Linked DNA regions of Homo sapiens: region 2 is linked to region 1. Evidence: promoter capture Hi-C in 16 types of primary human blood cells and fetal thymus (Javierre and others, 2016). All regions are on one chromosome and are shown on one strand. The core of a region is centred on a gene start or on the middle of the fragment in contact, and the rest is flanking DNA. Distances in the headings are between cores, read along the strand shown. Region 1 holds the start of BRAF (B-Raf proto-oncogene, serine/threonine kinase). Region 2 overlaps BRAF (B-Raf proto-oncogene, serine/threonine kinase).

Region 1 (4,024 bases), core at 1,393-3,892:
AGAGGTTCTCAAGGATTGGTACATGGGAACTGCTCAAGACATGTGCCAAATACAGAAATCCATGGCCCTCGCTCTCACTTACTAAATCAGACTCTTCAGGGGGTACAGTTCCAAACAATCTGGCCCTTTCAAATAAAATAGAAGGGTAGAGATTTTACTTCACAAAAGCCTTCTTTACAGAATTGCAAACGGTTCTAATAACTCTGCAGCAAAGTTCCCAAGATAAACAATTTTATAATCAGAGAATTACAATTTCATAACCCCTACTTATTACTTCACTCATTGTTCCACTCTGTAGTAGTCTTCAAACAAGATACAATTCAACAAAACTACACATCTATTACAGAGTAAAATAAAATCCAGAGGCACCTGTGCCTGGTTAAGACAAAGGCATATCCGATTCCTGGAGAAAACAGACAGCAGATGTGACCCCTAGTATTTATCCATTAAAAACAATGTATCCTAAAAATAAATTTCCATGTCAAAGGAAACAAAGATGTTTATAAATAAGAAGGAACGTGGAGGTGTGGAGAAGAAAAGAGGAAGCTTCAGAAAGTTAAGTACCAAAAGCCAGGAAACAAGGCAAAATGAATGGTAACTGGAAACAAGGGAAACAGAATAAACTAGGAAATTGAAGTAGAGAAGAGCTTTCTCCTTAGAAATCAAGAAGCTGGGGGAAAGGAACAGATATGAGAGGAAACTGATCTAAGCAAAAATGCATACTGAAAAGTGGAATGATTTTAAGAAACTTAAAAATGAGAAATTTTAGAACAGATCAAATGATGGTACAGAACACATTTTGGGCATGTAACAAAGATGATATAAAGAGTAGAAAACAAACATTATCATAAACAAGCTGATGCTGAATAAAGCAAGCATATTGGATGAATTTCCAAAGATGATGATGCAAAAAAAAAATTGCAGAGAGAATGAGATGTTATGAGAATTGAGAAATTAGATGTTAATAGTAAGTAGCAAAGAGAACTTCGAGCAAAGTCAACAGAGTAAGTCACATTACCTAATCAATAACTGTAAACCACAATTATTATACCATATCTTATTTGTAAAGCATAATAAAGTATTATTTTCTGTAATAAAATACCAAATATTTGTAATAAATTTTATGTAATAAAAAAACGTAAATAATTTGACACAGTGCTAAGAGGCTGACTAATGCAAAAACAGGCTGAGAGAAGCAAGGACTGGAGAGGAAAAAGGAAAAGGAAAAAAATAGGACAAAAAGGAGGACAACACTAAGAAATCAATCAGACCTATAAAAATGGGTAGGAATAAAGAGGTGTGAATGCACAATGGACGACTAGCCAAAAAGTGCCAGTAGTGCAAGCGCGAAAAGAGCCAAGTGAAACCTGATGGAATCTTGACAGCTTCTGGGCTCAGAAAACAAGTAGCTCCAAAGTGTCCAGGAGGATTTGTGAAGATAACAACAGACAACAATGTTAGGGAGTGGTGAGATCAAGTACAGAGCCTCAAGAGGACCAGGGTAAGAGAAGTGCAAAAATGCTCTTAAGTGGGAGCTGGGGTTAGAAGGCAGGCAGGTCCGACAACTGGAAAATGAGCGGGCGGTAGATGGGAATAGAATGGGGGTTACCAATCAGCGACAGAGCGCTGACAAACATTAGGAACAGAGGACCAGAGACCAGAAAAGGCATCGGAAACTGCGATTTAGGATTGAAAAAGTAAAGACTAAATCAAAATAATTTGCTGGGTAAAACAGGTGAAGAGAAATCCCCAAATAGAAAAGTGAAAAAGGGCAGCGGACTGAGAAGGGGGGCAGTCCGGGAGAGGAGAGAGGAAATGATGAGCCCCATCATCCCCACGACCATGTAAGAATTACACGCGACAGTAACTCGGGCTGTTGTCTCAGCCCCAGCAACTAACCTATATCCTCCACGTCGAGGCCGCCGCCGCCCCCACCCCACAGAGATGCAGAGCTGGATACTTCAGCCAATCGTGACCTTCTCGGACCAACCCTGAGTTTCGCCCCCTATTGATAGCCTCCCGCTCAACCACCGCTGCCCCAATCCCCACATCTGGGGTGGGGGCCAGGGAAACCCCCCGGGCCATTGTGTGTGTTTACGTAGGAAGGCGCTGCATGACGGAGAGGGACACGGGGGCGATGCCCACCTCCCAGCCCGCGGAGCTGGCCCGAGAAGGTGGCTGAGGGCATCAAGCCCCCACCGCCGCCTCTTTCCAAAATAAACACCAGCCAGCCGCCGAGCCCGGAGTCGGGAGGGCGGCAGGGTGGCGCCAGCACTCACCTCCTCCGGAATGGCAGGGTCCGCAGCCGAAGAGGCCGCGGCGCCGGCGCCGGCGCCGGCCTCGGGCTCCATGTCCCCGTTGAACAGAGCCTGGCCCGGCTCCGCGCCGCCACCACCGCCACCGCTCAGCGCCGCCATCTTATAACCGAGAGCCGGGGCCCGAGCGGCCGCTGTCGGGCGGGGAGGGGGAAGGGAGGCGGAGAGCTGGGGGAGGCGGAGGCGGAGGCGGAGGCGGAGGAGCGGGGGGCGCGGGGGGCGCGGGGAGGAGCGGCCCGGGCGGCGCCGCGGGCGGAGGGCGCCTGGGCCACCTCAGGTACCGGCCCGCGGCCCCGGGCGCAGCCGAGCCTGAGGGGATTGGGGGAAGGACGCTAGGCGGGGGTGCGGGGGGGAGCGGGGGAAGGGGGCGGAGACGACGAGAAGTCGCCGCGGCAACGGCGTCACCCGCGTGTCACGGTCGTGACGTCACCCCGGTGCGTGACGTAATCTGAGGCGCGCCTTCGCGCCGTCGTCCGGGGAGGGTTTTTTCCCTTCTAACCACCCGCGCTCTCACACTTTGCCTCCGCTCCGCCGTTTCCATGGCTCCGGTTTCCTACTTTCCTCTTGTCTCCTCCGTCCTCAGCCTGTTCTGTAATGTGGGATTTACTAGAAGAGCAGGGCTGGTGTTCGAGGAGGAGAAGTTGAAATCCTAGAGGGAGGAAGGCGGGGAAGCCAATACTACTTGCTATTTCCACTGCAATGAACGTCTCTGTGTCATCAAAATAAGAACTTCAACCCCAAGGTTGAAACAGCCAAGCAGAATTTGATGGAAATATATTTAGGAACAGCTAAATTAGCAGTGCGACGCGTGTTTTCTTTTCATTGAAGAATTCAGCCAGTTAAAACGAGTCTAAATGGAAGTCTGAAAGCTTTTTCTTCATTGTTGAGGAATAAAATATTTCGTGTATTTTTCGTTTTCCAGATTCATTCATTTAACAAATATCAGTTGAGCACTTTCCATGCCGTAGGGCCTGTACAAGGCACATAGCATTCTAGACATCTGAAGCATCAAAACTAATCATTTTTATTTTGAAGAAAATCACTCAAAATATTTTATGTACTTTGTGCCTTTCATGAACAGAATATTCCAAGCATTCTCTGCAAAATACGCATGAAAACAATTGGGAGAGAAGAGGTCAATTATCTTTGAGAAGCCCAATTACAGAATGAAATTCAATTCATTATTAAAAATACATGGATCTAATAAAGAATAAATAATTGGAAAAGAAAAGTTTAAGGAAGAGAGAAACGGGAATGAGAAACAATTACTGTGGGCTCCCAATGGCCTGGAGTGAATCACCAAAGTAACCTAAACATGAAGTCATGAAAAACTAAGTGGATTCTGCCTTTTAGTACTTCCCATCATGGGGGAAGTCACCAGCGACCTCCTTACTGTATTTTGGATGATTCAAGAAATAGAAAGGTGTCCTACTGACTTCTGAAACAGGGTGTCTTCATATTGATTAGGGTCACCGTAAGCCTGGGAGCTGATGCTTACTCTCAGGTAAAGGATGCTGTGTGAGGCTGCTTGATGAATGAGAATACTAACATTCTTCTGCATTGAAAAAATATAACCTATAAGATGAACATTGTAGGCCGGGCGCAGTGGCTCACGCCTGTAATCCCAACACTTTGGGAGTCTGAGGCGGATGGATCACCTGAGGCCAGGAGTTTGAGACCAGCCTGGCCAACGTAGTGAAACCTCATCT
Region 2 (4,350 bases), core at 398-2,897, 170 kb before region 1:
TATTTAGCCTATATAACCTGCTTTTAAGATTTTTGGGGCTTGAAATGTGTTAGGATGAGGTGAGATGCTTTCCTAAGTTTATAGGAGAACCTAAAACTTTCCCATTAGATTTTAGCAATGTAGGCCCAGATATTCTCTTGGCACTCCTGGGCGAGCAGTAAAGGCTCTTCATTGGAATGAAGATGCTGCAGATAGTATCTTAGTCTGCACTTAGGGAAGAGAAATATTATGTTTTTCTCACCTCATTGTTATATAATTTAGAGTCTTCAGTTATATCTCAACTACCACTGAGCAAGGTCAGAGGTCTGAAAGGGACTAATAGATAGCTACAAAACTATCAGTTTTATAGTGCTGATAAAATGTAAGCAAGCAATCAAAAACTCCTACTATTGTAAAGACTTCTGATAGATTTTCTTGTAATGTTCAGTTGTCGAGAAACCAAAAGCAGGCTGTGGTATCCTGCTCTCCTATACATGCATGCACAATCCTTTATTAATTCTCTTTACAGTATATCGAACTTAGCATGAAAACTGTTTTTACATAATGTGAAGACAAAATGCAGAAGAAAAAGTCAGGATGTTTTCAAACTTCGCAGACAAATTTCAGGAAGGATACTATTACTCTTGAGGTCTCTGTGGATGATTGACTTGGCGTGTAAGTAACTGAAAAACAAAACATCATTTTAACCTGAGTAGGGCTAAAGGACTCTGGCCTCGAAATCTACAGAACATACTTGGGGGTGTAAAGACTTATTTAGAATCATGATACAACTGAAAATAGTACATTGTAATAAACCCTTCACAGAATATTAAAATAGACTGTAAATGAATTTAAGATTATAGGAACATATCACTATAATGGTACAGTCAAAATCTTGTTTTCTATTAAAAGACTTTGCTTTATCTTTTACTAGTTACCAATACAAACCTTTCACTCCAGTCAAGCCTATTTATCCATGTCCCTTAAATATACCTTGATATTTAATCCCACCACTGTGTTCAATGCTCCCCTCCTACACCCAACCCTCCAAGTTAGCTTTCGTTCTATTTTCCACCTATTCATATCCATCCTTTAAAACTGAATACAAATTCTAACTCCTGAGTGAAGCTTTCCCATGACTAACCGAACTGAAAGTGCTCTTTCACTGCTCAACTTATGTAGTAATTATCATAATAATGGCTTGATTCATGTGTTTTTTCAACGTGCCTATGTTCACTTCTATTTGGAATGTAAACTACTAGAACATGCAGTTTGGTAATTAAAACTATTTTTAAAGGTAGTTGTCATATATTCTTAAAATATTTTCTTAAAACTAGTGAGGAGAAAACTTTCTCTAAAATGGCCATAGTAGGTCTATTTTAAAGTCAACGATAACTTTAAAATCATCTATGTTACCCCTAAAAACTGCTTTAGCTACATTCATTGAAGTAAAAGGCAGCATTGTTGTTGTTGTTTTTGGGGAGACAAAGTCTTACTCTATCACCCAGGCTGGAGTGTAGTGGCACGACCTTGGCTCACTGCAACCTCCACCTCCTGGGCTCAAGAGATCCTCCTGTCTCAAAAGGGCTGTGTCTTGTTTATTTCTTTGTATACCCAGTGCCGAGAACAGTGCTTGGTATGTGTGGTAAGTATTCAATACATGTCTACTGAATCAACTACAATAAGATGCATATAATGTGCTAGTCAAGGTTATTTTTCTTAATTGAATACCGGAGAGAATAGCTATATGACACTTCTGAAATCTGACAATGATCATTAGACAGTTTTACCTTAAAATGAGAATTTAAAATCCAAATGGTATAATCAAAATCATGCAATAAACACTGTTAAAAGTGGAAGATTTGCAAATAACCAAGATTATTCATGCTGTCTCATCTTCATTTAAACGTCCTCATTCTTCCCAATATCAAAAATTTTAAAGTATTTTCTAGATAAAATTTTCATTTCAAATTACTATTTATCTAAAGTAATCCCTTCTCCAATTACTATTCATATCACAGTTTATGTTCTTCATAGCATTTACTACAATTGAAAATTATCTTGTCATGACTTTAGGCTCAGTGTTCTACATCATATTGTCACTCTTTCACTGAAAGAAAATGTTATTTCGGTTATAGGTCTCACTGCTTACAAAGTTCTGCAGTGACATACAAAGTTAAAAACTGGTGGAAATAAATGGGCCCCAATCAAAGCTTTAAGATGGTGAGATCTTGTCTCCATTAGAAAGAAAGGGGGATAAATGATGATGGTGTTGGTTGGTGGAGCTAGGTCCTGCACTCAGAGAGACCTGGGATCTAGTATACAGCCAAGGTGTTGGTCTTTGAAAGGAGGTTCTTTTTCCTGCAAGACTTAAAAACAAAAACAAATGGGCTTCAACCATATCAAAATACAGAGGCATGCTGAAGATAAAAGAGGGGAAGATAAAGGTGTTCTCCATGGGATGGTGTTAATCCTTTCAACAAATTTGATGCAGAGGAATATAGCAAGAATAGAGTAGACAGAAATGTAACTGGGGAGAGTGGGGAGAGAAATTTTCTGACCAGGAAAGCACTAGATAATTAACAAGATATAAATGTAATTGGGGAACCAGTGATATACCCAGCATAGAAGTTATATAGCATAAATTTGTTATAGGCCGAGTTGCATAAAAATACAACCTGAAACAACACTTTATACCTGTGTAATCCTTTATTACTTACAAACTGCTTTGTTAATTTTTATCTCATTGAATAATTCTCTTTCTGTAATCCTTCTGTAACAAAAGCAGCAAAGAGTAGAAGTCCAGGTCTGTAGAATGAAAGGCTGGAAGGAAAAGGGGGTCTAATCCCCCAGCTAGAGAAATGGGATGAGACACAACCGAATCCCTACATAAGATAATGTTTCACAGTAATCACTACCCTAAATAATTCTATATAGGGGGACACTAAAACGTAATTTCCTAAGCACCACCCAGTTACAATGGAAAATGCCAAAAAAAAAACCCAAACAAAAATAACAGAAAACAAATAACTCACATAACTGTTTGGGAGTAGGGAAGGGAACAAGAATATATCAACTTTACTTTGCCATATATGACACAGAAGTCAATCCATTAATTAGGATAATTAGATTGGACCTCCCTCTTTCCTTGGTAAGATGTTAAGGAGAGCATTACAGTTTTACAGAAGTACTAGGAAAGAACAAATATGCTATCAACCAAAGGAACAACACATTCTCTTGATAGGTTTCTCTTAACAGTCTCATTCCTTGAAGAAAAAGTGTCCACCTATAGAACCATTTAATCTTAGAGCTACAAAATCATCTGGTAAAATTTCTTCTCACACTACTTCAAGCTCTTATCCAAGATTCAGCTTTTCCACATTCTTACAGAGCATAATGTGGTGCCCCAAATTAAAAGCAATACTTCAGATCGGATCTAACCAACACAAACTATGGTGAGATCCTCATCTTCATCTCCCACATGGTGGGCATACAACATTAAATCAGACATTATTGTGATTGTTATGGCAGCCAAAGTCATGCTACTGAGTCCAATTAAAATTATATTTAATTACATGCTTCCTGCTGCTGGGTCAAAATTTATGACAATAAATAGAATTTTTAAAAAAGGGCACAAAAAGGATTATATTCAATTACAATCCTAGAATAATTATTCTTGAATTGCTCCTATAAAACATTTTCCCCATCTTATACTTGTATATTTCTCTTTTTTTGGACTTGACTAGGATTTTTTTTTTGAGACAGAGTCTCACTCTGTCACCAGCCTGGAGTGCGGTGGTGCGATATCGGCTCACTGCAACCTCCACCTCCTAGGTTCAAGTGATTCTCCTGCCTCAGCCTCCTGAGTAGCTGGGACTACAGGCGCGCGCCACCATGCCCAGCTAATTTTTGTGTTTTTAGTAGAGATGGGGTTTCACCATGTTGGCTAGGATGGGCTCAGTCTCTTGACCTCGTGATCTGCCTGCCTCAGCCTTCCAAAGTGCTGGGATTACAGGCGTGAGCCACCACGCCCAGCCTTAGGATTTTAAATTTTGTAGACATGGTCTATAATTTCAGATTAAAACTTTAGCTTTCACTAAAAAAGTCGGTTTTTTCTTGCCTGCTTCATTTTTCTTTAATAAAACATAGGTTATTTTTATTTTCTTGTTTCAAGAGTCTTACGTGAGAGCTGAAAAAAGGAGATTTTTAAAGATCGGCATGCTAATAATTCCTCACATAAGTTACTTCTAAATACGTAATTATATTCAAGAGAGGACTGAGGATAGGAATCTCATTATAGTTTGCTGTCTTCAGGTATGATCATTCATCCAGTATGAACCCAGTTAAATCCTGTCATTCATGTTACATCAC

What was found. Contacts are between HindIII fragments. The CHiCAGO score rates a contact against its expected background, and 5 or more counts as called.
Region 2: a contact is called between a fragment that was not itself captured here and the fragment with the promoter of BRAF in region 1, in 1 of 17 cell types (megakaryocytes). The highest score is 5.5, in megakaryocytes.

Annotation. Positions count from the first base shown.
Region 1 is chr7:140,922,287-140,926,310 of GRCh38, forward strand. It overlaps BRAF (B-Raf proto-oncogene, serine/threonine kinase), which reads right to left and starts at 2,643. Exons shown (of 18, transcript NM_004333.6): 1 at 2,280-2,643. The coding sequence starts at 2,417. LOC105375536 (a long non-coding RNA gene) reads left to right here and starts at 2,806. Exons shown (of 5, transcript XR_002956518.2): 1 at 2,806-4,024. RefSeq lists a silencer at 2,466-2,535. The HindIII fragment of the contact is 2,638 bases long and covers 545-3,182 here.
Region 2 is chr7:140,753,572-140,757,921 of GRCh38, forward strand. BRAF (B-Raf proto-oncogene, serine/threonine kinase) reads right to left here. Exons shown (of 18, transcript NM_004333.6): 14 at 616-662. Among named protein-coding and RNA genes, the nearest start is that of NDUFB2-AS1, 59 kb to the left of the region's middle. The HindIII fragment of the contact is 1,085 bases long and covers 1,106-2,190 here.